2 separate regions of the Homo sapiens genome follow, and region 1 is linked to region 2. The links are contacts of gene promoters, found by promoter capture Hi-C in human tissues and cell types (Jung and others, 2019). All regions are on one chromosome and are shown on one strand. The core of a region is centred on a gene start or on the middle of the fragment in contact, and the rest is flanking DNA. Distances in the headings are between cores, read along the strand shown. Region 1 has its middle 45 kb from the start of LINC03106. Region 2 holds the start of IZUMO3 (IZUMO family member 3).

Region 1 (2,700 bases), core at 53-2,552, 1.5 Mb after region 2:
CAGCAAAATAATGTGAATTTGTAAATACATGATTTATGGCCAAAAATGACTTACTCAATGAGGAAAACAACCGATTTGAAGTGCCTGAAAAGTTTTCAAGTTTGAACATATGGCTTTAAAACATTATATAATAACTTTATACAATACTAAAAATATTACTTCCTTTTATTCTTCCTTATTTTTGCCTAATCCAGGTTCTCATTCAGGATACACTGAGACTATGTTAGGCCCATAATAATTTTTGGTCTTTTCATTGTTATGCCATTTTTATATGGATAGTTGCTTGGCGACCTAGGCCATCTTCTTTGAAGTCTGCCTTGCCATTGCTTTCTGAGAAGCCATAATAACCCTGACACTTTCTGGGAAGCCTTAATAAGCCTTGCTTTGTTGTGTGATTGAAACTAAGCAAGAGCTTCATATTCTACTCCTCATGTATGTTTTAGATAGCAGTTGGAGTTAAATTGATTTGTCTTTGTTGTTGAATTTAACTTTCCTTATACCTTTAATTCTGATTTATGGCAGAGACCATTTTTCCTAAAATGTTTTTTACTTAAGTCTACTTGTTTCTAAGGCACTGTGAGACTTATTTTTATATTTTATTTTATCCTTCTTTCTTGTGAGTCCCTGTGCTAGACATCTGAGAAGTTAGTTTTAAGAGCTTCTTTTCTTGGTTGATATTTGCTTTGACATCAATGGGAACTCACATGTGTAAATGAAAACTCTTCTATGGAAAGAATCTTCTTTAACATCCATCTGGACCAGCCAGATAAGTCTGACAATGGTTTTATATTACTCAAGGAAACTTAACTATTTATTACTGTTGTATACTCTGAGCAGATTCACATAGGAATGCATTAACGATGTTAGAAAATAGTTCATATCATCATATGAAAATATATCTCCCAAGTTACAGCTCTTCATATATTATAATAATTTTCTATACGAGTCTTTAGAAAGTACATCATTTCACAAGATCTGTACAACAATGACATGAGTTGGTGTAGGAATATATTATCATTGTTACTTTTAGGTAAATTAAGTGAGGCTTACCTATAAGATTAGATCATTTGATCAAAAAAGTTAAAAAGAGCAGAGCCAGCATTAAAATTTAAAATGTTCTGATTGTAAATAAAGAATGAATGATGCTGAAATTATTTTTAAAAATTCATAAAATGAACTGATTTTGAAAGCCTACTTAAACCAATTTTATGCCTATATAATGTGAAATGATTCATTCACATATTCATTTATCTATATATACATATATGTTGGTATTCATTCAACAAAAATCTACTAAATACCTAATATAGGCCATAAACTCTCTTATACACAGGAGCAGATGTAGAAAGAAATAAGTTAAGACTTGTGCATTGTGTGACAATACAGTATGATATTGAAGATGCTGGCTCCTGAGTCAAAAAATATCACATGCAAACTATTCTGTTTTTACATTAGTTATGTAACATTTTAAATATTTTGTTAAACACAAGAACGAATTATTCACAAAAATATATTTCCAAAAAGAACAGAAAAGTAAATACAGCTTTTTGAGACAATTTTAAACTTCCAAAAGGGTTGCAAAAATAGTTTAGAGATTATGTGAAATGTTCAGAGTAGGCTAACTGGAGACAGAAAGTAGATTAGTGATTGCTTAAGTCTGGAGGTGGTGCAGGGAATGGGGGAAAATGGAGAGTGACAGCTTATGAGTATGATGTTTCTTTTTGGTTTTTATACTTTAAGTTATGGGGTACATGTGCAGCACGTGCAGGTTTGTTACATAGGTATACACGTGCCATGGTGGTTTGCTGCACCCATCAACCCGTCATCTACATTAGGTATTTCTCCTAATGCTATCCCTTCCCTAGCTCCCCACCCCCAAACAGGCCGCAGTGTGTGATGTTCCCCTCCGTGTCCATGTATTCTCATTATTCAACTCCCACTTATGAGTGAGAATGTGCGGTGTTTGGTCTTGTGTTCTTGTGATTGTTTGCTGAGAATGATGGTTTACAGCTTCATCCATGTCCCTGCAAAGGACATGAACTCATCTTTTTTTATGGCTGCATAGTATTCCATGGTGTATATGTGCCACATTTTCTTTATGCAGTCTATCATTGATGGACATTTGGGTTGGTTCCAAGTCTTTGCTATTGTGAATAGTACTGCAACAAACATACGTGTGCATGTGTCTTTATAGCAGCATGATTTACAATCCTTTTGGTGTATACCCAGTAATGGGATGGCTGGGTCAAATGGTATTTCTAGTATAGATCCTTGAGGAATCGCCACACTGTCTTCCACAATGGTTGAACTAATTTACACTCCCACCAACAGTGTAAAAGCGTTCCAATTTTCCACATCCTCTCCAGCATCTGTTGTTACGTGACTTTTTAATGATCGTCATTCTAGCTGGTGTGAGATAGTATCTTATTGTGGTTTTAATTTGCATTTCTCTAATGACCAGTGATGATGAGCATTTTTTCATGTTTGTTGGCTGCATAAATGTCTTCTTTTGAGCAGTGTCTGTTCATATCCTTTGCTCACTTTTTGATGGGGCTGTTTTTTTTTCTTGTAAATTTGTTTGAGTATGAGGTTTCTTAAGAGAAGTTCCATTAATAGTATAACTGTTTTCCAATCATGGTATTTATAGCTATATCTTCATTCTTATGAGGGTGTGTGGGTGTGTGTGTGTGTTTGTGTGTG
Region 2 (2,700 bases), core at 53-2,552:
ATCAGGTATTGTTGACGTTACCCCTTGTAACCACAGCTCTAGGAATTGGTTTCCCAGTGTAACAGGTGGGAGAGATAGGGCCATATAGAGCAAAGGAGATGGGAAAATATGGGCTGAAACCTCAAGGCGTCACATGTACTGTACTCACTGCAATCTTCAGAACAAGCTAGAAGAGAATCAGAAAGTTCTAATGAGTTTAAAACCAGCTACAGTTTGCCATATTTATACCCAAGTAGTCTTTGTTTACCCTTTAAGTTCCAGTTACCTCTCCACCCATTCTAAATAACTCTATTATGAACTTGCATTTCTTCCCTCATCCCGCATTTTCTATTCCCTTCATATAACTTCAGTGCTGTTATATAGAAAGTTTTACTTACCAATTTCAGAGAAGTTCTTTAGTAATTCTTTCAGTTTGGATTCCAGGTTTTGGCAGACATCGAGAAGCTTGCCTTGATAGATAAAGACACCTAAGAGGGAGTGGAAGGGGTGTCAAAAAATAGAAGTAGCTCTTCCCTTCAGAAGTTAATTATGTCTGTTTTTATCTTTGTTTTCCCCAGCCAAATTTTCTGAGGCTTGCTTGAGCAATACAAACTTTTAACATTGAAACAGTACCTCACCTTTCCATGTTTCATTGCCCAGTTTATAAAATTCATTCTTCAACCATGTTCTCAACTTAACAACCTGCTGAACAGCTAGAGAGGGAGAGTAAAGGTACATGTAGGGGAATAATTACATCTATGCAGGAAGTTATGTAGACCCAGGTGTTCTCTTCCTTGCCTCCCTTCTCCGTTTAAGCCCCTGGACTCTCAGGAACTCAAGCTTCCCTCACCCAACACCCGAAGCCTCTTGTCACTGTGGGAGACCTTGAAGCTTAAATGAATCATCTCCTTAATCTGCCGTTCAAGCAGCTGAGTTCGGCCGGGGACTTCTGAAGGTATCAGATTTCCCAGCAAGGAGCCAACATCCTCTATAAATTTGGGGTCACATTCTAAACAGCCTTTGACTCCATGGAAGGCTGAGAGGGGCAGGAGCAGGAATAACCACAGGTCACCCATTTCTTTCTTCACCCCCGCTCCCCGACAGCAGGTTGTCCTGGCAACTAGTTCACTTAGTTCCTTTTCCTTCAAAAATCCGGGAATGAGAGCCTGGTTCTGGATAGTCTGACTCCACTTTTCCCGCTGTTTCCATCCCACTATCGGGCAATCTTTAGTTGTTTAGTTTAATGATCTTTAGTTGTTTACTGACTATTATCCTTCATTCTAGGAGAGGGAACTGCCAGCTGGGGAGCGGATACCTGAGTTCTGAGTGTAGAACACCAAGAGATAGAGAAGCCTTGAGCTCACACAAGCAGAGTTCTGTGCAGGGAGATGTCTCAGAAAAAGTGTTTCTTTAGCCCTCTCCCTGACTTGCATCCTCATGAGACTCTTAAACCCCCTCCTGACCTTCAGAGATGTTTATCATCAGAGATGGGTTATGGAAGTGATCCTATAGAACCTGAGAGATTGCTTAACTCAAACTCTGCTTCTACATTAGAGGTAAGAAAAGCCAAGAATATTGAGTTTCTTGCGGGTCTCGGTCCCTACTGGGGCAGTATTGTTGACAAATACTGGTGGCAGTATTGTTGAGAATAAAGGAGTGAGCATTTATCTAGAATAATATTTGGCAATTTTAATAGACAGTAACATATTTCAGGCTACATTTATCACTAGGATGATTTTCTAGACATGACTTGTAATCTTTTCCTTTTCTTCTTGCTTTCTTCTCTTTTCTTTCCCTTCCTTCCTTCCTTCCTTCCTTCCTTCCTTCCTTCCTTCCTTCCTTCCTTCCTTCCTTCCTTCCTTCTTTCTTTCTCCTTTTCTTTTCTTTTCTTTTCTTTTCTTTTCTTTTCTTTTCTTTTCTTTTCTTTTCTTTTCTTTTTTTTCTTTTCTTTTCTTCTTTCGAGATGGGATTTCACTCTTGTTGCCCGGGCTGGAGTGCAATGGCATGATCTCAGCTCACTTCAACCTCCGCTCCCGGGTTCCAGTGTTTCTCCTGCATCAGCCTCCTGAGTAGCTGGGATTACAGGCATGTGCCATCATGCCTGGCTTATTTTGTATTTTTAGTAGAGATGAGGTTTCTCCATGTTGGTCAAGCTGGTCTTGAACTCCCGACCTCAGGTGATTCACCCGCCTCGGCCTCCCAAAGTGCTGGGATTACAGGCATGAGCCACTGTGCCTGGTGATTTCTAATCTTTTTATAGCATTCTTCTTATAGAGAGTGTGGAGTCAGATACTAGAAACAATAGTTGAGGAATACTGAGTGATGAATCCAATAAAGTTCAGATCCTTTAACAAGTGCATTCTAAAATACTGGCAAAGTATGTAACATATAAAAACATAGTGGTTATCATGGGCTTCCCTCTCAGACCACCTACAAGGAAGATGTCCAAATAAACATGTTCTCCTTTCAATGGCCCTTTGAATAAAAATATTCTGTGTTATTTGAATAAATTGAGGTTGCTTTTCAGACTCTTAAGAGCACTGGTTACCTCTTTTCTAATACATTGCCTGTATGGCTGTGACCTTCTGGAAACCAGGAAACACTGGCAATCTACAGGGTTAGTGGTAGAATTTATATTTAAGATATGGGGTGATCACAGTGGAATGTTGTGCGGGAAGTTAAAAGAATTACCATTACTTATACGTCTACCAAGTCCATGTG

What was found. Contacts are between HindIII fragments. The study calls those that stand out against the background at their distance.
Region 1: a fragment that was not itself captured here is called in contact with the fragment with the promoter of IZUMO3 in region 2 in 1 of the 25 tissues and cell types used here (dorsolateral prefrontal cortex).

The regions. Positions count from the first base shown.
Region 1 is chr9:26,020,762-26,023,461 of GRCh38, forward strand. No RefSeq gene overlaps it. Among named protein-coding and RNA genes, the nearest start is that of LINC03106, 45 kb to the right of the region's middle. The HindIII fragment of the contact is 5,502 bases long and covers 1-2,700 here.
Region 2 is chr9:24,544,595-24,547,294 of GRCh38, forward strand. It overlaps IZUMO3 (IZUMO family member 3), which reads right to left and starts at 1,303. Exons shown (of 7, transcript NM_001365008.2): 1 at 830-1,303; 2 at 618-692; 3 at 378-467; 4 at 149-166. The coding sequence starts at 1,055. RefSeq lists an enhancer at 1-952. The HindIII fragment of the contact is 4,602 bases long and covers 632-2,700 here.